Linked DNA regions of Homo sapiens: regions 2, 3, 4, 5, 6 and 7 are each linked to region 1. Evidence: promoter capture Hi-C in 16 types of primary human blood cells and fetal thymus (Javierre and others, 2016). All regions are on one chromosome and are shown on one strand. The core of a region is centred on a gene start or on the middle of the fragment in contact, and the rest is flanking DNA. Distances in the headings are between cores, read along the strand shown. Region 1 holds the start of KRT78 (keratin 78). Region 2 has its middle 11 kb from the start of KRT85. Region 3 overlaps KRT84 (keratin 84). Region 4 overlaps KRT82 (keratin 82). Region 5 overlaps KRT75 (keratin 75). Region 6 has its middle 7.3 kb from the start of KRT6B. Region 7 has its middle 8.3 kb from the start of KRT6C.

Evidence for each region. Contacts are between HindIII fragments. The CHiCAGO score rates a contact against its expected background, and 5 or more counts as called.
Region 2: a contact is called between a fragment that was not itself captured here and the fragment with the promoter of KRT78 in region 1, in 3 of 17 cell types (endothelial precursors, naive CD4 T cells and erythroblasts). The highest score is 5.9, in endothelial precursors.
Region 3: a contact is called between a fragment that was not itself captured here and the fragment with the promoter of KRT78 in region 1, in 5 of 17 cell types (endothelial precursors, erythroblasts, megakaryocytes and 2 more). The highest score is 10.7, in endothelial precursors.
Region 4: a fragment that was not itself captured here is called in contact with the fragment with the promoter of KRT78 in region 1 in 2 of 17 cell types (naive CD4 T cells and endothelial precursors); the score reaches 6.3 in naive CD4 T cells.
Region 5: a contact is called between a fragment that was not itself captured here and the fragment with the promoter of KRT78 in region 1, in 1 of 17 cell types (endothelial precursors). The highest score is 5.3, in endothelial precursors.
Region 6: a contact is called between a fragment that was not itself captured here and the fragment with the promoter of KRT78 in region 1, in 3 of 17 cell types (naive CD8 T cells, endothelial precursors and erythroblasts). The highest score is 6.4, in naive CD8 T cells.
Region 7: a fragment that was not itself captured here is called in contact with the fragment with the promoter of KRT78 in region 1 in 1 of 17 cell types (endothelial precursors); the score reaches 5.5 in endothelial precursors.

The regions. Positions count from the first base shown.
Region 1 is chr12:52,847,270-52,850,243 of GRCh38, forward strand. KRT78 (keratin 78) reads right to left here and starts at 1,725. Exons shown (of 9, transcript NM_173352.4): 1 at 1,278-1,725; 2 at 638-852. The coding sequence starts at 1,661. The HindIII fragment of the contact is 13,226 bases long and covers 1-2,974 here.
Region 2 is chr12:52,354,580-52,357,553 of GRCh38, forward strand. No RefSeq gene overlaps it. Among named protein-coding and RNA genes, the nearest start is that of KRT85, 11 kb to the right of the region's middle. The HindIII fragment of the contact is 2,368 bases long and covers 360-2,727 here.
Region 3 is chr12:52,375,421-52,378,394 of GRCh38, forward strand. KRT84 (keratin 84) reads right to left here. Exons shown (of 9, transcript NM_033045.4): 9 at 2,392-2,960. The coding sequence ends at 2,614. Among named protein-coding and RNA genes, the nearest start is that of KRT84, 8.7 kb to the right of the region's middle. The HindIII fragment of the contact is 4,277 bases long and covers 1-2,974 here.
Region 4 is chr12:52,396,173-52,399,146 of GRCh38, forward strand. It overlaps KRT82 (keratin 82), which reads right to left. Exons shown (of 9, transcript NM_033033.4): 6 at 711-836; 7 at 1-60. Among named protein-coding and RNA genes, the nearest start is that of KRT82, 8.7 kb to the right of the region's middle. RefSeq lists enhancers at 1-30, 153-322. The HindIII fragment of the contact is 4,156 bases long and covers 1-2,974 here.
Region 5 is chr12:52,422,520-52,425,493 of GRCh38, forward strand. It overlaps KRT75 (keratin 75), which reads right to left. Exons shown (of 9, transcript NM_004693.3): 9 at 1,551-2,236. The coding sequence ends at 1,998. Among named protein-coding and RNA genes, the nearest start is that of KRT75, 10 kb to the right of the region's middle. The HindIII fragment of the contact is 7,485 bases long and covers 1-2,974 here.
Region 6 is chr12:52,443,326-52,446,299 of GRCh38, forward strand. No RefSeq gene overlaps it. Among named protein-coding and RNA genes, the nearest start is that of KRT6B, 7.3 kb to the right of the region's middle. The HindIII fragment of the contact is 234 bases long and covers 1,379-1,612 here.
Region 7 is chr12:52,464,053-52,467,026 of GRCh38, forward strand. No RefSeq gene overlaps it. Among named protein-coding and RNA genes, the nearest start is that of KRT6C, 8.3 kb to the right of the region's middle. The HindIII fragment of the contact is 1,428 bases long and covers 846-2,273 here.

The sequences.
Region 1 (2,974 bases), core at 475-2,974:
GCCAGAAGGGCAGGTGACATTTCCCAAGTTTACAGAAGGGAAACCAAGTCCGGGAGAGATGAGATGCCTTGCCCAGGATGCACAGCTACCCCTCACTCACAGTTGCCCCAACCCAAGCCCCCTATTAGTCCAGGGCTCTCTCCACTCCACCAGGTGACCTAGGCGTGGAGCCCAGAACCACAGCCCATCTGTGAATTGTGTCACAGGCCTGGGGACAGCCCCACTAAATTGATTCCCTTCCCTCTTTGGAACCAGAGAACATCTGAATCACTTTAGCCCACAGCCCGCTGAACAGGAATTTCTCAAGAATAAAAAAAGCCACTGGGGCATTGTTTAAATAAGCCCTTCCCAGCCTTGACCGGAAACATGGGCCCTTGTAGCTGGGGCATGTAGGACACCGGTCTCCCTGCCTTTCCTCCAAGGTTCTCCAGATCTGCTTGGGGACTGCGGGACACCTCGTTTACCTGTAGCAGGTGGGCACCTGAGAGCCTGGGGAATGGGGACGCGGAGGGGTAGAGGGGAGGCCAGTCATGTGCCTCTGGGTGCTCAGTATGTGGGACACCTCCTGGCTGACAGACCCAAACTGAGTCATCCCAGACCCCGCCCACATGGCATGGGGAAATTTCAGTGTGCCTACTTGGACTTATACTCCTCCTCCTGGTCCCGGCAGGCCTTCAACTCAGCATCCAGAGCCCCTCGTTCTCCCTGGAGCTGCTCCAGCTGCTTCCTGAGCTGATCCAGGCAGGCCTCAAAGACAGGCTCCAGGCCCTGCTGGCTGCCACTCAACCCCTGTTGCTGCAGCAGATGCCACTTCGTCTCCAGGACCTTGTTCTGCTGCTCCAGGAACCGCACCTGCAGCAAAAGCAGAGGATCCCTGAGGCTCCTGTGGGACTCCCTGTGCACAGCCTCTGGAAAGTAAAGCCTGAGGGACCCTCCCATCAGCCTCACCTTTCCCCTGTCCCCCTGCCCAACCTGGGCAGGGGAAGCCTCATGACCTTCCATGACACTCTGAACACAACAAAATGACTGGACTGACTAATGGGGCAGGGCCTTCCCCCCGCTGGCTGGCAGTTCTCTGTCCCTGAGCCCCAATCATGGAACAACAGGGCCTCAGCATAGCCAGAGAGAGTCCAGTTAGTCCACAGGAGGGACTTCTTTGCTGCAGAAGTTATTAGAAAAGTGGTAGAAGGAGGCCAAACTTCCCATTTCCAAGTCCATCAAGAGCAGCTCCTCCAAGGGAGGCACAGAGACAGGGGCTTGGCTGAGTTGACCCTCACCTTGTCAATGAAGGAAGCAAACTGGTTGTTGAGGGTTCTGATCTCCTGGGTCTCCTGCGTCCGCACCACCTGGAACTGGGGATCGATCTCAATCTTCAGTGGGGTCAGCAGATTCTGGTTGATGGTCACTTCTTGGATGCCCCCCGGAGGGCACAGGGAGAGCCCAGGCCCACCACTCCACTCCCCAAACCGCACCCCCAGCCTACCCCCTGACCCCCAGGTACTCCCACGAGAGCCTTCCAGGCACCCCCCAAAGGAATTAAGGCTCCTGCTGCTGAAGCCGCCCCTGCTGCTGAAGCCTCCCCTGCTGCGGCCCCTTGAGCGAGCAGAACAGGCTGAGCGAGCGCTGAAGCCCCTCTGGGCCCGGCATGGGGAGAGAGACATGGCAGAGACAGACAGTCACGCAGCTGCAGACGGACAGACAGATTGTCAAGGTGTGTGAGTTTCTGCCCTGGGGCCCCAGCACGAGACTTTTATCCACTCCCGTACCTGGGCTGGGCCTTGGAGAGCAAGATACTCTTGACCTGACTGTGTCTGTCACTTGGCTCCAGCTGACTTACTCTGACGTGCCTGGAGAATAAGTGTCCGGCACGTGCAGAGCCAAGGGAGAAGGAAACCCAGACCCTGCCCTCAGAGCTCCCAGGCTGTTGGAGAAATAGGCATGCCCAAAGACAAGGAAGCAGGCAGGAGACTGGGATGTCAGTGCTGAGGGACAGGGAGGGATGGCCGGAGCAAAGTCACTGAGGCCCTCAGGGAAGGCTTCCTGAAGGAGACAGGGAAGCGAGAGGAGGTTGAAGAGGAAAGAACGCTAGAAGGGGTTCAGAGGAAGCATCAGAGTGCCCTGGATTCTCAAGGGAGAATCTGCCTCAAGGAGTTGGAGAAGGAAGGCACTTGCAGCGCCACAAAGAGAGGAGGTTAGTGGAGGTGTTATTGCCATAGTTGGCTAAAAGACACTCCAGGATTTGGAAATGAAACAGAAAAACAGGGTTTCCAAGTCCTTCCTCTTGCCCAACCCAGCAATCATCCATGAGGCACCACCCACTGAAATCAGGCATCTCCATCCAGGATCGCATGGGACAGCACGTTTCTGACCCAGCCTGTGGCTCTGCTCCTTCCACAAGCACTTGGGGCCAGGCCCATCCACCTGCCATCAGGCTCCGCTTCCTGAGGTTACAAATCAGAGCCACCCAGGCTCTGAAATGAAATGTGCATTTAGGGCCGGGCACAGTGGCTCACGCCTGTAATCCCAGCACTTTGGAAGACCGAGGTGGGTGGGTCACTGGAGGTCAGGAGTTTGAGACCAGCCTGACCAACATGGTGAAACCCCATCTCTACTAAAAATACAAAAATTGGCCAGGTGTGATGGTGCACACCTGTAATCCCAGCTACATATGAGGCTGAGGCAGGAGAATTGCTTGAACCCAGGAGGCAGAGGTTGAGCAGTGAGCCAAGATCGTACCACTGCACTCCAGCCTGGGCAACAGAGTGAGACTCCATCTCAAAAAAAAAAGCAAGGTGCATTTAGAAAATACTCCTAAGCTGGGAACGGTGGCTCACGCTTGTAATCCCAGCACTTTGGGAGGCCTAGGCGGGTGGATCACGAAGTCAGGAGATCGAGACCATCCTGGCTAACACGGTAAAACCCCGTCTCTTAAAAATACAAAAAATTAGCCAGGCGTGGTGGCAGGCACCTGTAA
Region 2 (2,974 bases), core at 294-2,793, 490 kb before region 1:
CTAATCAGCTGGGTTTATACTGTTTGTTGCCTGGAAGTTCATTGTATTTGCATGATTCCTGTATGGTTCCTTCTTTCTTTTGGTGTGCTTGATTAAATATCAATGGCGAAAGGCTTTTTCTTAGTAACCAAGTTAATGCCTGCCTCCTTCATTGTCTTCCCAACCCACCCAAAGCCCTGACTGTCTTGGTGCATCTCACAATGTGGTCCACCGACCACCACCTGCATCAGAATCCCTGTGGGGTAGTTGCTAAATGTGCAGATCCTGGGCTCCATCTGGAACTCTCAATCAAAAGTTCTAGGGATGAGCCCAGGAATCTGTATTTTAAGAAGCTTCCAGGTGATTCCTAGAAGAACTAAAGCTTGAGAACCACAGGTTGATGTGGGTAGAGGGAAGAGGAGGGTCGGATAATTCTGGCCATGGAAGTGACTGTCCCTCTGATTCTCACTGGATCGGTCTAGCCCCTTTGCATTTCTCCTTTGTCTGCGGCTAAAAGGTCAGAGCCATGGTCTGGGCCACACACACACCAGGGCAAGGTGGGGGCAAAGGTACAAAAGGGGTGAGGAAGGGAGCCTGTATTTGTTAAACACCTGCTAGGTGTCTGGCACATTATATATGTATTTCATTAATTTCTCACAGCAACCAGAATATTATCCTCATTTTACGTATAAATAAATTAAGGCTCAAAGAAGTAGCTTTACTAAGTTACCCAGCTAGTCCAGAATTCAAACTCATGTCTAGGGAATGCTGCTGTTCATAAATGTTTCCACAGCATTTCCCTAATTGCTCCTCAGGCTAAACATTCCGGCTCATCAGATGCTTCCGGAGGAGTTCTGCCTGATGCTCCTTCACCAGCTGTCTGACACTTTGGAGATGAGATGGAAGGTGACACATGGGACCTCCTAGAAGCATTTGTAGAAACATCTCCCCGTAGGTTCTGTTCTCCAAGAATCTCGGACAGATCGTACCACGGGGCGGTTAATACAAGCCTTTTATATGGGAACCCAAGATCAAAGCTCAGACACGTGGTTGGAAGGCATTTGCCCTGATAACCTGGTCAGAGGCAATTGATTGGTGAACTGTATGTCTGGCCTACTCTTGAACTGACAGTTCCCTAGAAGTCCTACCTAGGGCTGTCTCACCTGTATGTGATGAATGGAGACAGGGGTTTCTGAAGGTCAACTTTCTTTCACTTGTTGTACAGGAAGAACTATTTCTCCCACCTTATTTTATTTGGAACTTTTTTTTTTTTAAGCCTGACTGGGTAGGAAACATTTTGCCACAAGAATGCATATCTGATCTCATGACATAGAAAAGTCTTTAAAAGGTTTTTTTTTTCTTTTCTTTTCCATGGTGCTCACGCACATTGCCAAACCTTCTGGTACCAGCTCCGGACCTGCCAAGGCAATGGCTTGGCACCCCGGCCTAGGGGTGGAGTCTGGGGGAGCAGGGCCTGGCCTTTTGACTACCTGCGGGTTCGCTCCCCACATCCCATTCACTGCAGACGGGCGACCCCCGAGGGTCTTTATAAAACCTCTGTGCCAGGACGCACTAGGCACCTAGACTTCGGAGAGGAGGGCGCCGACCCCGGCCACGGTGCTATGGGCATGTCACGGGGCAGCCCTGAGCAGCCAATAACCCCCAAACACCCTGCCCACTACCCCAAAACGGCGGGCAGGTGGCGCCCAGCTCGCCCTCCCGTCCCTCCCGGCGCCCAGCCCCTAGGCCCCTCACCACTGGGGTTAGAGGCTAAGGGCGGGACGCGGGGCGTCTCGGGCAGGGGTGAAGGAGGGCAGCCGGGGCCCAGGCGTGGAGGGCGGGCGCGTTTGAGAGAGGCGCAGGCGGCGGGATCCCGGCGGACGGCAGAAGACTCAGGAACCAGTCCAGAGGCGCCGAGGCGCGAACCTTGCGTGAGCCAAGGACCCAAGGCCCCTGTGGATCTGATCCCGCGGGCTCCAGCAGGGCCCGCGCCGTGCATCTGGAGATGGGCCCAGGATACCCGGTGGCTGGACGTGACGGTGGGCAGGCAGGCAGGGCAGGGCACGGGGCGACCCGTGAGCAAAGCGAGGGTGGGGGTAGGAGGGGTGTGGCCCCTGACTCTCGTGGGTGGGGAGATGGGGGACAACGGTGGCCTCAACGGGAGACGGGGCCAAAGTGGGGACCTGCAGGGAGGACCTGCAGGCCCCTTGTTACACTGTAAACTGTCCCCACCCAGGTGGCCTGCGGACCACCGAGGCTGAGGAAGTCCTGCTGGCCTGGACGGTGACTCGCCTTCCCATCCCGAGTCTCTCGCATCCAGAGGGCCAGCACTGCACGGGCGACATAACAGAGAAGAGCCTTTGAATGGTTCTCCTCGGCCACGCAGTTCTTCTGATGTCTTCAGACTCTGTTTCAGTGACCACAATGGCCAGGCAGTGACTTGACCTGGGCGGACAGAGGTCTATCTTAGTAGGGTGGTGCTTCCCTTGTCTCTGTCTCCCGGACCAAAGGGTCTTGCAGGGGCCTGCCCATCACAGTCCGGATCCCACCAAGTTTGAGCAGCAGTAAAGCCAGGTTAAAAGGGTCACCAGAGTGACTCTGAGGAGGAAACGGTGTCTCAGGGGGCATTGGCTGCCCTGGGGCATGGGACTGTGGACTGGGGAAGGGTCTGTGTTTCCTTTTGATGGTGGTGGAGGGTGGCTATTTGTCTATGAATGCCTTGGGTATTTTCTTCATTTTTAATGCGTAAGCTTATCATGCTGTCCCCGCCTCACCCCACTCCCTGGCTGCTCCCCTGCCAACATGGGGGAGCCCTCGGTTTTTGAACAAAGCGGAAATGAGCAGGGATTTCCAGGCATGCACAGGTTGGGGGTTGGGGGTTGGGGGAGGCAGGAAGGTGGCCTGAGGCTCTGTGAAATAAGCCTCTCCCATTGCTTGTTCTGCCTGGCATGTCCCTACACCCAAGGAGTGTGGCGCTTAGTGCCCATGTCGTTGT
Region 3 (2,974 bases), core at 224-2,723, 470 kb before region 1:
TTCCTTTTAGAGCAAGTCTGCAAATGGCAAATTCTCTTAGTTTTCCTTCGTCTGAGAATGTCTTTTTGTTTCTTTGTTGGTTTTGTTTTCTTTTTGCCTTTGCTTCTGAAGGAGACTTTTGCTGGCTGTAGAATTCTGTGTTTACAGTCCCTCCCCCCTCCACAACCCTTGGCACTTTAAATGTGATGTGCCACCATCGTCTGTCTTTCATGGTTTCTGATGAGAAATCTATGATAATTTGAACGATTATTCCCCTATATGTAATGTGTTATTTTCCTCTAGCTTAAAAAAAACTTTAAAAAAATCTTATGTTCTCTTTATTCTTCAGATTGGATAATTTCTATTGATCTGTCTTCAAGTTATTGACTCTCCTTTGTCTACTTCTTTTTGTTATGGGCCCATCAATGACTTAAAAAATGTCAAATATTAAAATTGCCCCCAAGGGGTGTGTGTGACTTTGCACGTAGAAGATGAGGTGGGAAGTCATGAGCTCCTGGAAGCAGGAGGGCCAGTGGCTGGTGACCCCACCATCATGCAGGGCCTGAGGCTGTGAGCAGGGCAACCTCTACATCCTCAGGGTGCTGGCTGGGGTCTTGGCAATGCAGAACATATAAAAATGAGAGATGTGCTTCCTGCTCCCTCAGAAGAACTGTCTTGGAGTGAGGCTGACCAGCAAACCATTCCTACTATGAGACATGTGCCCCAATGGAGCTGTGCTGTTCGTGACTGTGCCTTGGCTGACTCCTGTCCCCACCTGACGCTATGTCTTGCACTCTATGCTATAGTCATGGCCAATTTCAACTCCAGGCAAATCCTCAAACTTCTGCTCTCTCCAACGTCTTGGTTTTTGCACATGCTGTTGTTGCCTCTGCTTGGGACACTTCTTCCTTCTTAGTATGGCTAATTCATCATCCTTCACACCTCTGCTGGGACATTATATCCTTCAGGAAGCATTTAATGTTGCCCCAAGTCTGGGCGGGGCCTCTTGTCTGGGTAGTACAGCATGAGTTCTGCTTTTAATATAGTACTTAGCATATTGAGTCAAGTGCTTATGCACTTGTCCATCTATCAGACATGTGCACTTGTCCATCTATCAGACAGGACTGTAAGCTCTTTGAGGGCCGGAATTGAATCTTGTCAATTACCATTTTCCCAGCATCATGCCTGGTATGTGGTAGGCACTTCTCAAATGTTTGTTGGATGAATAGACAAAAGATGAGAGGTGGGCAGTGGGCTGTGTGGAGGGGATGGCTGGAGGTGGAAGTCTACGGGCAGATCACACAGGGCTTGTATGCCATGTTAAGGAGCTTGGGCTATTTCTGGGAGGCAACGGGGAGCTACCGAAGGATATGAGCTGCGGGGAACCACAGTCAGTTTTTTATGTGAGAAAGGCCTTTCTAGCAGCATCGTGATGAATGAGTTGGATGGAGACACGAGTGGGAACAGAAAGACCAGGAAGGACCTATAATGAACTGATGAACTGGGGGAACTGAGGGTGGGTGAGACCTGGGGAGCAACAGATGGCAGGGTTCACTTTGGTCAGGGGAGGGTGCCTCTGAGCACAAGGCTATTCCCAGTGGTGGGGGGAAGTGGGCAGTGGGCTGGCTGCCACTTGTTTTTGGAGCCTTTGCTACCTCTCCTATGCCCTGCAGAACTGTCAGTCCCTCCAGCGAATGGCCTGGGCCCTCTTTCCTCAGTGCCTTCCCTGTGCCCAGGACACCAGTCTCTGCCCTACCTCAGCTAGGCAGGCTGTGATCTGGTGGAGTCTAGGAGGCAACTCCTCCAACCCCAGTGTGATCCAGAAGGAGAGGCCAGAGTCCCTGTGAGGTGAGCTTGGCAAGTTTATTGAAAACCCAGGAACACAAAGAGTAGTGCACACAGGCAGCCCACCCCACCCAACCCCCAGGCCTCCTTGGAGCTTGCAGACACAACCCTGCAGTGGACAGGGCTGGGCCTCACACCACGAGCAGGGGCAGGAGTACGGGGATCATTGCAAAGCCCGCCTGTCCGCCTGCACCCCACCTCGTGGACTTGCATGCTGGAGTTACACCAACAACCCAGGAAGAGAAACAGCCGGAGAGAAGCCACTGGGAGAAAAGCCATCTCGGGGTTTAGGGAGCCTGGGGCCACCAAGGACTGGGATCCCCTTCATCAGGGAGAGAAGGAAAGAACCTTCTCCTACCAGAGAAAGGAAGAAGAAGGAAGTGAAGGATGTGGAGTTAAGGATGCCTGCAGTGTGGACGGTCAACTCCATTCTCCAAATTAACCCAAAGCCACGGGTGGTGAGGGCACTGGGTGGATTGTTGTTATTGCACGGAATGTGCATTTCTCCAGGCTGTTGCTGACAGGGAGAGGAGTGATCCAAAGGACAGAAATTGGGAGGCAGGGAGAAGCCAGCTTAGCTGGAACTGCTAATGGAGCATCTACATGGCAGAAAAATCCTCCAAGAGGACATGGGGCCAGGCAGAATAATCGGGGGAGTGCTAAGGGGTGGCTTCCTGGCAGAAAGGGGAGCTGGAGACCGTCAAGCCCAGAGCCCACGAACCCTGGGGGCAGAAGCAGGAGCCGTGGAGCTGGTTCTTCTCTGGGCAGCAGCTGTCTGGGGCTGGGCTCTCAGTACTTGGTCCGGCAGGAGGTGGTGGTGGACACAAAGCGGACGCTGGAGCTGCGGCCGCCGCTGCAGCTGCTGAAGCCCCCCTGGGTGGGCAGGGGGCAGGGGACGCTGGGGACACAGGCCTCGCTGATGAGCATGGAGCCACTCCTTGTGCCAGTGCTCAGCAGGTCCCCAGTGGCCGGGGCGACCCGGGCTCCACCCAGGCTGGGGCCACAGGAAGCCAGGACCCCACTGGTGGCACAGACGCTGCTGCTACCTGAGAAGGTGACCCCGCCGCGGGAGAGGGTGGAGCCGGCAACCAAAGGCTCAGGCCCGCACACCAGGCCGCCCCGGGAGCTGCTGACGGCTGCGGAGAAAGAA
Region 4 (2,974 bases), core at 123-2,622, 450 kb before region 1:
ATTGAGAGCCGCCTCGCCCTGCTGCTCTGCCTCAGCTATGGCACCCTCAAGTTTGCAGCGCTGTGGGAGGGGCGCAGAAAAGCATCACTGGGGGCCCTGGAGCCCCAAGCCAGACTCGCAGAAGAGCAGAGAGAACACGGGGGTGGCTACGTGCCAGGCTCACATTTGCGAGCTTCATCCTAGGATTGCGACATCTGGTTCCTCCAGGGAACTGGGATGGGTTTTCTGTCTAAAATACCTCCAAGAGAGCGGGGATTTTCCTCTTAAGTATGCTGAGAAATTTCTGTGGGGTTAATATGTTTTAAATGCCCAGCTGGTCTTCCCTAGCCCAGGAGAATGGAGTGGGTCTGATTTTATGAACAACTGAGAGTCACCTTGAATTTCAGGATCATAGAATCACAGTCTTTGGGTCTGAAGGGACCGTGGAGTGCATCTTTTCTATACTTGCACCTAGTGAAGCATCCTTGCTTCTCATCTTTGACATTGGTCACCTCGTTTCTGTTGGGGACCTGACTATTTCCTGTGGCTGCTCATCCTGCTGTGGGTCAGCCCTTTGGTAGAAAGGGCTTGCTTCTGCTTGAGCAAGGCAGCACAAGTTTATTCCCTCTTCAATGGCACTCACAGCAAGGATTGAACCCGCCCTGCACGGCACAGACTGGCCAGTCAGCCCAGGATGGCTGTTGCAGCAAGGAAGTCCTCCCCAGCCTCACCTGGGCTTTGACATTCTCGGTTTCTTGCTGCAGCCGCTGGATCAGTTTATTCATTTCCAGGATCTCGTTCTTACGGTTGCGGAGGTTGTCACAGTGGTTCCCAGCTGTGACTCTCAGCTCCTCATACTGCCAGGACAGAGAGGTCAGAGCCCCAGGCCCCACAAGATGGCATCTCCTAGCCTCTTTTCTCACTGTTCCCAGTCTTTTCTCCCGTGACTTCCTAGTTCAGGTGTTCTCTGGTTCTCATACTGGTTCTGCTCCTTTACCTTCTTCCGCTTCTGGGCAATTTTGGGTCCTTTATGTGGGCTGTTCCTGATTCCCATCTCACCCCATCCCCAGCTCCAGGCTTGTTAGATTTTTCTCCAGCCTCTGAGATCCCCTCCTCTGTTGAGCTGTTCTGTGTCTGGTCCTTTTCTCTGTCCCAGAGCCCAAGTTCACCTGAGGGCTCCCTCCCTTTTAGATATGCCTCTGGAACTTGGAAGGGGTTTCTGTGCTCAGCCTGGGTTGCCTAACAGACCAAGGACTGCCCATTAGGATGGGTCTGCCCATCAGGATGAGAACATTTGTATGTTTTCCACAAAAACAATAAAAAAAACAAAATGCAATTTATGTCCTACCTTGAGGTAACACTTTTTTATAAAAACCTTTGCACTCTGAATCCAATTTCTGAATAGTAGTGTGTACAGATTACATTTGTAAGTTTTAAAAAATTAGCTGACTTTAGATTTTCTGATAGTGAGTGGGAGCATATTATATAGAAAATGCAAAATGAGAGATAAGCACATAATCACACTCATTGGCTCTTTTGTTATTTGGTTACAGTAGGAAAGTCTGCAGTTGCCTAGTAAATATCCATTGTCCTCTTCTTAAAACAGAACCCCTGGCTGGGCTCAGTGACTGACACCTGTAATGCCAGCATTTTGGAAGGCTGAGGCGGGCAGATCATTTGAGGTCAAGAGTTCAAGACCAGCCTGGCCAACATGGTGAAACCCCATCACTACTAAAAATACACAAATTAGCTGAGTATGGTGGTGCATGCTTATAATCCCAGCTACTTGGGAGGCTGAGGCAGGAGGATCACTTGAACCTGGGAGGCAGAGGTTGCAGTGAGGCGAGATTGCACCACTCACTGCACTCTAGCCTGGGCAATAGAGCAAGACTCCATCTCAAAATAAACAAACAAACAAAAAACAAAAATAACAGCAACAGAAAAAACCCAGAACCAAATAGAACACTGCTTTTATTTAGGGTAACAATGAGCCCAGATAAGAGAATATTTCTCAGTCTTCCAATCAATGAGATCTATGACCATGGCTGGGTAGGGCTTCTGGGTAAGCTCTTTAAAGGGGGGAATGACCCAGTTGGCTTTTTTTGCCTCTGTTCTCCTTGCTGCCAGGCGTAAGCATGTGAGATTGGAGGTGCTGCAGCTTTCTTGGAACATGAGGCAACCAAGAGGATGGAGCATGTATTACAGATGGCAGAATGGTGAACTCAAAGGATCCTGGGTCCCTGATGATGTCACAGAATCTCTGTGTCATCCTGGGCAGTCTATTTTGTACTTCAAGCTACTTTAGAAAAAAGTAAAAATTCAATTTTAACTTTTTTTTTTTTTTTTAGAATTTCTGATCCTGGTAGCCAAATGCAATCTTCAACTAATAGAATTTTCTCTAAGATTCTGACTTAGCAGGATGGGAAAATGAGGTGGTTGTAATCCTGAACCCAACATGGCTGATGGTTGTTGCCAGGGGCAACCAGAGGAAGGGCCAGCCAGAGTGAAACCTGGCCGTGGGTGGGTCACAGACAGGTTCACCAGGAGCTGACTCCATTTCAAGTTTTCATACTTCCAACCACCATGGAGCTCCAGAAAATGGGCAGAGCATCACTTTGGGCACTCCCTGGGCAGTGGCACCCACTGCCTTCAGAACAAAGCCAAATGACTTAGCACAGCCCTGCAGATGCTGTGACCTGGCCTCAAGCTACCCCTCCAGCCCGATCTCCACAGCACATGGCACTCCAGGCCCCTCAATTTCTGCTGCTGTGTCCTAGCACCTGCTGCTCAGCCTGGCACACCCTCCCCCCATCTCCCCTTTGAATCTTATTTGTCCTTCAAGATTAGATCAAATGACAACACCTTTGCCTTTGTGACACAATTTGTTCCCTCTGTCATCAAACTCCCTTTACCTGCTGCTCCACCTTTGCAATCACTTCCTGCTAGCTGGTGTTTTGGTTTGGGAAGCACATCCTTGCTGGCCACCCTAATTGAA
Region 5 (2,974 bases), core at 297-2,796, 420 kb before region 1:
ACACACAATTTTTCCCCTTAAATAAAGTCCCCAGGACAAGATCTGGGGATTGGAGTCTGGAGCAGACTTGGAGCAGGCCTGGGGGTTTCCGGGCCCCCTACCCACGCAGGCTTTCAGCCACACATTGTGGACACTCCTGTAGCCTCTCATCTGAACTCCCTTCTCTATTCCCAGGTCTTGGGCTCTGAACCCAAAGTCACTAAATTATGCTCCTCCCATTCTGTTCACTTATGATTTCTAAAAATTCATTTATTGGAGATTCAGTCTGTGCCACACCACACGACAGGTCAGCCGCAAGCATGATTTCATTTAATTCTCATAATAACTTTGTGAGGGTGGATGATAAAAATAAGGACAATTTTGAATATCTTTTGAGCAGCCACTATGGGTAGCTGGTTTCCATGTATCTTCTTTAATCTGAAATAGCACTACAGGGGTTGCCGTTAAGATCCTTGTTTGACAAAGGAGGCCGATTGAGACACAGTGTAGTTAGGCACCTTTGTTGAGGTCACATAGCTAGTGAGCACTGGGGCCATTGTCAGAACCCGGACTCCTGGTCCCATGCCCTGAATCATTGCACCCCACACAGTTGGGAAGATCAGGCTCAGAGATGAGAGCCAGCTTGGCCAGTGGAGAAAGCCTGAGGATGTCACTGCAAATTCCTGTCCCTCCACTTCTCTCCTCTCTTGGTCTGAACTCGCCCTCACCCCAACACCAGGGATTTCACAATTGTTCTCAGTGTCATTTCTCTCCTTCCTGCCGTCCTCCCTCTCCCGTCCACTCCAAATTTTAGCCCCTGGTTTTACACTCATCTTCCCTCCTGATTCACGGCCTCCCTCTCCCCCGACTTCACTTCCTGCTCCTTCACCCTGGACAAGGGTGTTTTAGAACCCTGTCCCAAGTAGCTCACATCAGTTCCTGAGCATTGAACTCACTCCCTCCAAGCCCACATCGACTGCCCCACTCTGGGTGAGCCCACTGGGCTATGCCCCAGCTCAGGCCTGATGGGAGGGGTCCAGGAGACTGTAAACTCAGGAATGTGGGAGCTTACTGGATATCTCACTGCTGCCTGCAATTATGGGCTAAATGGCTCCTCTCCTTGGTGAAAGCGTTGCTCCCAGGGCTGCCTTTTAACTCCTCTTCGTGGCCTGTTATTTCTCTGCTGGGTCTGCAAGTTTGAAACTGTCAGGGAAAAATCAGCCCCTCTGCTGGGCCGCCCACCCGGCGTCAGTATTCTGGAACACTGGTTTGGAATGGGGACGGCACTAACAGAGCAGGGAGGCCGGTCTGGGCTTCTCCCAACAGCTCCGGCTTCCCAAACAAGGCATGCCAAGGAGAGGGAAAAGGAAGTCTGGCCAGCCCTGCACTCCCTGCACCTCTGCAGCCCGCCCTCCCTTCCTCCCAGCCAGCTTTCTTAGCTCAGAGGGAAGGGGCAAGGGCTGATGCCTCTGAGCACTGGTTGTGTGATCCCCATGCTGGGAGCAGGCCTGGGAGAGGAGGAGAATTGCTTTGGGTCAGTCACCATTCCAAACAGAGGGCCAGACACCAAACAGGTGACACATGCATTTAATAGACACATTCCAGGGAGGGAACAGAGGGAGCACTCACTCCCAGCAGGCCACTTATAAACACTATGAGACAGGTGGGTGACAACCTGGCATTGAGAGACTCCCCAGCCTCTGCATCTGGAGGGAGGGAGGGAGGTGGAGCTGGAGGAGGACTTTCCAGCTGCCCGGGCCTCGCAAGATAGGCTGAATGAGAGCCTTAGGAGAGAGCAGGCTTTGGTTTCACATGTGTAACAGACGGGTGCTGCTGGCAGTCTGGGCACTGTCAGGAGGGAGAGGCTGGCTTAGGCCTGGGAATGGGTATAGCCAGTACTCCAGGCTCCCAGCAGCACAGGTGCACCTTACAAGGAGAGAGGAAGGAGGAGGACCCTGGTGTCCAGGTGTGACTGCAAACAGGCCTCAAGGCAGGGTAGAGGGAGCCATGGGGCTCTCTTAGTGCGTGTAGCTCTTCTGGCTGGAGGATGTGGTGGAGACAAACTTGACGCTAGAACCACTGCCCCCTAAGCCCCGGTTGCTGGTGGCACTGAATCCAGAACCTCCCAGGCCTGCACCCAGGCTATGCCCACCACTGGTGGTGAAGGAGTAGCCGCTGCCCCCACCGAGGCCCAGGTTTCCACCTCCAATGCTGCTGCCGCTTCCATAGCCACTGGAAAGAGTAGAGGTGACCACAGCTGCCGGGAAGAGAGGAGGTGTGGTCAGATCAAGTGCAAGCGAGAAGACAGCTGGGAGTGTGAGGGCCTGTGCCCTGGAGTCCTTGGGTGGGGAGGGGGTGGTCTCGTCAGCCAGCAGTTTGCCTCCTTCCAATGTCCCCTGCTTAGTGAGATCACTGCCTGTGTTCCTGAGCTGCAGCTCCAGGCAGCCTCTTAGGCTGGAATGGCTTCCTCCTCCCCTTCCAGAACCTACTGGAGCCCTCTCCTCCTGGAAGCAGCTCCAGTCCACCTGCTTTCCCTTTGATCCTCCTGCTGTGCCGTCTGGGTCTGTCTCCCTGTCTGAGCCTGACTCCAGAGTTTCTCTTCCTTCTGGATGCTTATGGGGGGAGGGGCACACTCCTCTTCCCTCAGCGTCTCCCAGCCCCACACTCAGAATCCCAGGGTGGAGGCTGGAATATTCTTGATGGATCAAGTGACAGATTAACCTGTTGGCCAGTGAACTCTGCCCCCGTTCTCCTCCCAACCTATTCTTCTCCTAATTTATAACTCATCCCCTTACACATTCTAGCACCCTACTTTGGGTCCTGCCGAAGGAAAATCAAATTTTAAAAAAATAGACTCCGTTATAGGATGAATTGTGTCCTTCAAAAACCTATGGTGAAGTGTTAACACCAGTATCCGTGAATGCAACCTTATTTGGAAATGGGATCGTTGCAGGTATAACCAAGTTAAGATAAAGTCTGTAGGGTGGGCCCTGAT
Region 6 (2,974 bases), core at 246-2,745, 400 kb before region 1:
CATAACACAAAAACTCTGAGATGCCTAGGGATACCTAACAACAACAACAACAATAACAACACAACAAAATGCACAAGAATAACCAGAAAACATTGAAGACAAACAATGAGTAGGACTTGCTGTATAAGAAACCAACATGTAAATAACAGAGTGAATGTCACCAAGATGGCAGAATACAAGGTAACCTGTTCATATCCCCCCACAAGATATTCTGCACCCAACCACAGTCCAAAATCTCTCTGCAGGTTCAGACATCATTGCACATCCTTGAGCATCGAGGATGTTCATGGAAAAGACCTCACCAAATGGACAAAATAAGGCACCAGAGACTGACCCTAAAGTAATAGAGAAAGCAGCATGTAATATAAAGATCTAGTAATCACAGTGGTGTGATCAGACAAAGAGATCAATGACACAGAAGATAAAGTGTATGAATTCAGCATGTAATAAAAATGGCATTTCAATGGTGGAAAAAGTAGGATGTTGATCTTTATGTAGCAGAAAAGTATGAAAATGAAAATAGCAATTACCCAAATTCATACTCCTCAGAATTAATCACTATTAGTATTTTGTCCTGGCAAGATGGCGAACCAGCTGGGGCTGTTATCTTCCTCCCACAGGATGAATCCTGAGAAACTGTAGAAACACATGAAAGGCACGGATACTAGGACGTATGAATTTTTGTTGTTTATCTGTAGTTCAACTTTAACTGAGGTTTCAGTGCAGTGGTTCATGCCTATAATTCCAGCACTTTGGGAGGTTGAGGTGGAAGGATCACTTGAGCCCAGGAGTTTGAAACCAGCCTGGACAAATAGTGAGACCCTAACTCTACAAAAATTACAAAAAAGAAGAAATTATCTAGGCATGGTGGTGCATGCCTGTGGTCACAGGTACTCAAGAGGCTGAGGCAAGAGGATCACTTCAGCCTGCGAAGTCCAGTCAGCAGGGAGCCATGATTGCACTACTCTACTCTAGCTTGGGTGACAGAATGAGACTATGTCTAAAAAAAAAACACAACAAATTTAACTGGGCTTCCTCTATTTTGTCTGGACAACCCTATTCACAGGAGACTGGGATGCCTGCTCCAAGTCTCAAGCCAGCTGGCATCTAGCTGGCCTCTCAGAGAGGGTAAGCATCTGGATTTCACTTGAGGGTAGTGAGGGACCCTGCCAGTAGCCTGCTGTCCTCGAGCTTTTTACCTGAGGGGGGAGAATGACTTTGCCTGGCACACTGGGAAGTTGTCCTAACAGCTTTTGGGACTTGAACAACGTGGCAGTTCCTACGCTCTGCTTCCACCATGCCTTTGACTTCAAACTCTAGACTGCAATGATAGAAAGGGAGGGGGTCACTAATTCCCCAAAGTCTCCTCCCGCTCCAAAGCTTCTGCTAATGACCTACTCAGTGGCAAGACGTTTGCTCACCCACAGACAACCATGGGAAGAAGGCCAGACCTCAACTACAGTAGTGACGCATGGGAAAGAGTCTCTGCTGTGGCATCAAATGGGCAAAATATGACCATAACTGAAAGAGTTATTGTTGTTCTTCAGGAATTTTCTTTCACTTTGTATTCTTCTGCTCACGGATAAGACCTGATTAGCCAGTTTCTAGAATAAGCTTGTGTAAACATGGCCTAAAAGATAGAGAGTCTGTTTCCGTCTAAAAGTGAAAATTACAACCCTGATGTTGATATCTGGTCAATTTGAATGAACGTCCAACCATCAATTTTTGCTTGTCAAAATTATCATGAAAGTTTACAGTTAAAATGTGCATGGTTTTTTGTTTTGTTTTGTTTTGTTTTTGCATCCTATCATCAAATGAGGAACTCCCTTAACCTTCATCATCCAGGCTGGAGTGCAGTGTTGCAATCATAACTCACTGCCACTTCAGACACCTTGGCTCAAGTGATCCTCCTGCTTCGGCTTCCTAAGTAGCTAAAACTACAGGTGTGCACCACCATGCCCAACTAATTTTTTAGTTTTTTTGTACAGACAGGGTCTGGCTATGTTGCCCAGGCTGGTGTCACACTCCTAAGCTCAAGTGATTCCTGCCTTGGCCTCCCAAAGTGTTGGGATTACAGTCATGAGCCGCTGTGCTCAGTCCCCATGTTGATCTGAGTGTCGTCTGTCAGCGTGGACCATGTTGTCTCATGGACCATGTCATCTTTGCCAGCAGCACCTCAAAACAAACTCTCTAATTTTATAAAGAAATTTTATGAATTTATTTTATCTTTTTTTACAACTTCACTTTTTCTAAGGGTTGTTGAGGTATAATGTACAGACAGTCAAAGTCACTGTTTTTAGGTGTACAGTCATAAACATTCTAACCAGCCTTTCCCAAGATAAGTTCTTTTTTTCTTTTTTTTTTTAGATGGAGTTCTTGCTCTGTTGCCCAGGCTGGAGTGCAGTGGCATTATCTTGGCTCACTGCAACCTCCACCTCCCAGACTCAAGTGATTCTTGTGCCTCAGCCTCCTGAGTAGCTGGAATTACAGGTGCATAACACCATGCCCAGCTAATTTTTGTATTTTTAGTAAAGACGGGGTTTCTTCTTGTTGACCAGGCTGGTCTCAAACACCTGGCCTTAAGTGATCCACCTGCCTCGACCTCCCAAAGTGCTGGGATTAACAGGTGTGAGCCACCAAGTCCGGCCCCAGGATAAGTTCTTAAGTTCAGCCCATGTATCTTTGAGTTGTGTCAAAACCATTCCAAAACATATGGCACTGCATGGCTTTAAATCCATACACTGAGATTTGAGGATGCTCCTTTACTGTATCTATTAGTTTGAATGATGGATTTTAGAAGTTTATATCAGAGCAAGCATTGGTGGCAAAAGTCTTAATAATCATAGAGTCAGGGCAAGCACCTGCTTCTTACCAAGTGTTTCTGATCTGCAGGGTCAGTGCAATATTTCCCTGGTGGTGGGGAGCCGGGGAGAGAGGGAGTCTCAGAGATCAGTGTGGGGTCAAGCCACCAAAT
Region 7 (2,974 bases), core at 310-2,809, 380 kb before region 1:
AAGACATATTCAATAAGGACTATTATCCAAACTGCACAAAGAACTCTTAAAATTAACAGTAAGTAATAACTTGATTATAAAATGGGCCAAAGTCTTTAACAGACACATCACCAGTGCAGATATAAAAAATAGATGAGCATAGATCAGAGCAATGCAAATTAGCACAATAAGATATCACTACATGCCTATTAGAATGGCTAAATCCAGAACACTGACCATACCAAATGCTGGCAAGGATGTGGAGCAACAGGAACTCTCATTCTTTGTAATGCAAAATGGTATGGCTACTTTGGAATAGTGTCTGGCAGTTTCTTACAAAACTAAACATACTCTTACCATACAATTCAGCAACTGCATGCCTTGGTGTTTACCCAAATGAGTTAAAAACTTATGTCCATCCAAAATCCTGCACACAGATATTTATAGCAGCTTTATTCCTGATTTCCCAAACTAGGAAGCAACCAACAAATCTTTCCGTAGTTGAATGGTAAGTCAACTGTGGCCCATCAAGGCAATGAAATATTATTCAACACTAAAATGAAATGAGCTATCAAGCCATGAAAATACATGGAGGAAACTTAAATGCATATTACTAGGTGAAAGAAGCCAACCTGAAAAGGCTACATACTGTAGCCAACTATATGACATGCTGGAAAAGGGAAAAAACTATGAAGACAGTAAAAAGATCATTGGCTGCCAAGGCTTAGTTGGGAAAGATAAATAGGTGGAGCACAGAAGATTTTTAGGGCAGTGAAATGAATCTGTATGATACTATAGTGGTAGATACATGTTATCCATTTTTCATAACCATAGAATGTACAACTGCAAGAGTTACCCTTACTGTAAGCTTGGACTTTGGGTAATAATGACACATCAATGTAGATTTGATTGTAACAAATGTACCACTCTGGTGGGGGCTGTTGATAGTGAGTGAGGCTATGAATTTGTGTGGGCAGTGGGTATATGGTAAGTTTTTGTACCTCTGGACAATTTTACTGTGAACCTAAAACAGCTCTAAAAAATAAAGACGATATAGATAAACTTGGCAGACATTATGCTAAGTGAAATAAGCCAGACACAGGAAGACAAATACTGCACAGTCTCACTTATTCGTGTTATGTAGAAGAGAGGAACTTATGGAAGTTTAGAGTAGAATGATGGTTATCAGAGACTGGGAGAGGGGGTGGAGATGGGACAGAATGGGAAATGCTGGTCAAAGAGCACAATTTCAGTTAGATGAGAGGAATAAGTTTTGAGATCTACTGTGCAGCAGGGTGACAATCATCAATAATAATATATTGCATATTTCAAAATAGCTAAGAAAGTAAATTTCAAATGTCTCACCACAGAAAATGATAAAGCAGGGTGATAGATATATTAAGTAGCTTGATTTAATCATTTCATATTTTGTACATATATAAAAACATCATATTGTACCTCATAAATTTATGCAGTTTTGTTTTTGTCAATTTAAAATATTAATTTTTAAAATCCCCCCAAAATTCTATGGATTTTGACAAATGCATAATGTGACCTCACCACTGCAATTGTTTCACTTATCACCTTGCAAAGATCCTTTGCCTTTTCATATCAACTTTATCCAGTTTATTGATATTTAAACAATATCTTGCTGGGATTTTAATTGCAATTGTGTTGAATCTATGTATCAATTTAGAGAAAATTGACAGCTTAATAATTTTGAGTCTGCCAATCTACAAATCTGGAATATCTCTTCATTTATTTACATCTTTGATTTATTTCATCATTATTTAGTAGTTTTCCACCTATGGAGTCTCTTTATATTTTGTTAGATTTATGCCTAAGCATTTAATCCTTTTGGTGTTATTGTGAATGGTATTGATTTTTAATTTCAAATTTCAGTTCCTCATTGCTGGTATATAAGAAAGTACTTACTTTTGTCTAGTAACCTCGTGCCGGCAACTTTGCTCTCTCTGCTTGTTGCTGCCAGGAAAGTTTTGGTAGAGTCTTTGAAATTTTCTACATTGACTAAATGTCATATGAGGATAAAGAGAGTTTTTTTATTTCTAATATATATTACTTTTATTGCTTATTCTCATCTTACTGCTGCAGTTAAACTTCTAGTACAATGCGAGTAACAGTGGAGAGAGGGGACATATCTGCCTTGCTCTCGAACTATGTGAAAACGGCCTAGTCTCTCACTGTTAAGTATGATGTTAACTATGGGATTTTTTATTTTTCAGATGTTCTTTACCAAGTTGAGGAAGTTGCCGTCCATTTCTTGTTTGCTGACAAGCTTGTTTTCTTTGAAACATGAATTGGTGTTGGGTTATATAATAAACTTTTTCTGCATCAACTGATATAATTATATGATTTTTCTTTTTTAGTCTTCTGATATGGTAGATTTTATTGATGGCTTTTGAATGTTACACTAGCCTTGCATATATAGGATAAATCCTGCTTAGTTATGGTGTATAACTTTGAAGTACTTGGTAGGATTAAATTTGGTAATATTTGGTTGAGCGATTTTGCATCTATGTTTATAAGAGGTATTGGTCTATAGTTTTCTTTTCTCAAAATGTCTTTGTCTGGTTTCGGTGTTAGAGTAATATCGACCTCCATAGAATGAGTTATAAGCGTTCTCTCTGCATCTGTTTCCCAGAAGACATTGTAGACAATTGGTATCATTTCATTTCTAAATGTTAATAGAATTAACCAATAAAAATATCTGGGCTTGGTGCTTTCTTTTAGAGAGGCTATAAATTATTGATTCAATTTATTTAATAGGTGTGTTACTATTCCAATTATCTGTTTCTCCCTGTGTGTATTTTTTGGTAACCTGTGTCTTTCAAGGATTTGGTGCATTTCATTGAAGTTTCAAGTTTGTTCATTTGTAGTTTTCCTTTATTATACTTTGAATGTCCATATACTATAAGATTTTTATTTTTTATATAGATACACATACATGCACATTGTTTTTAACCTCCTTTTGGTA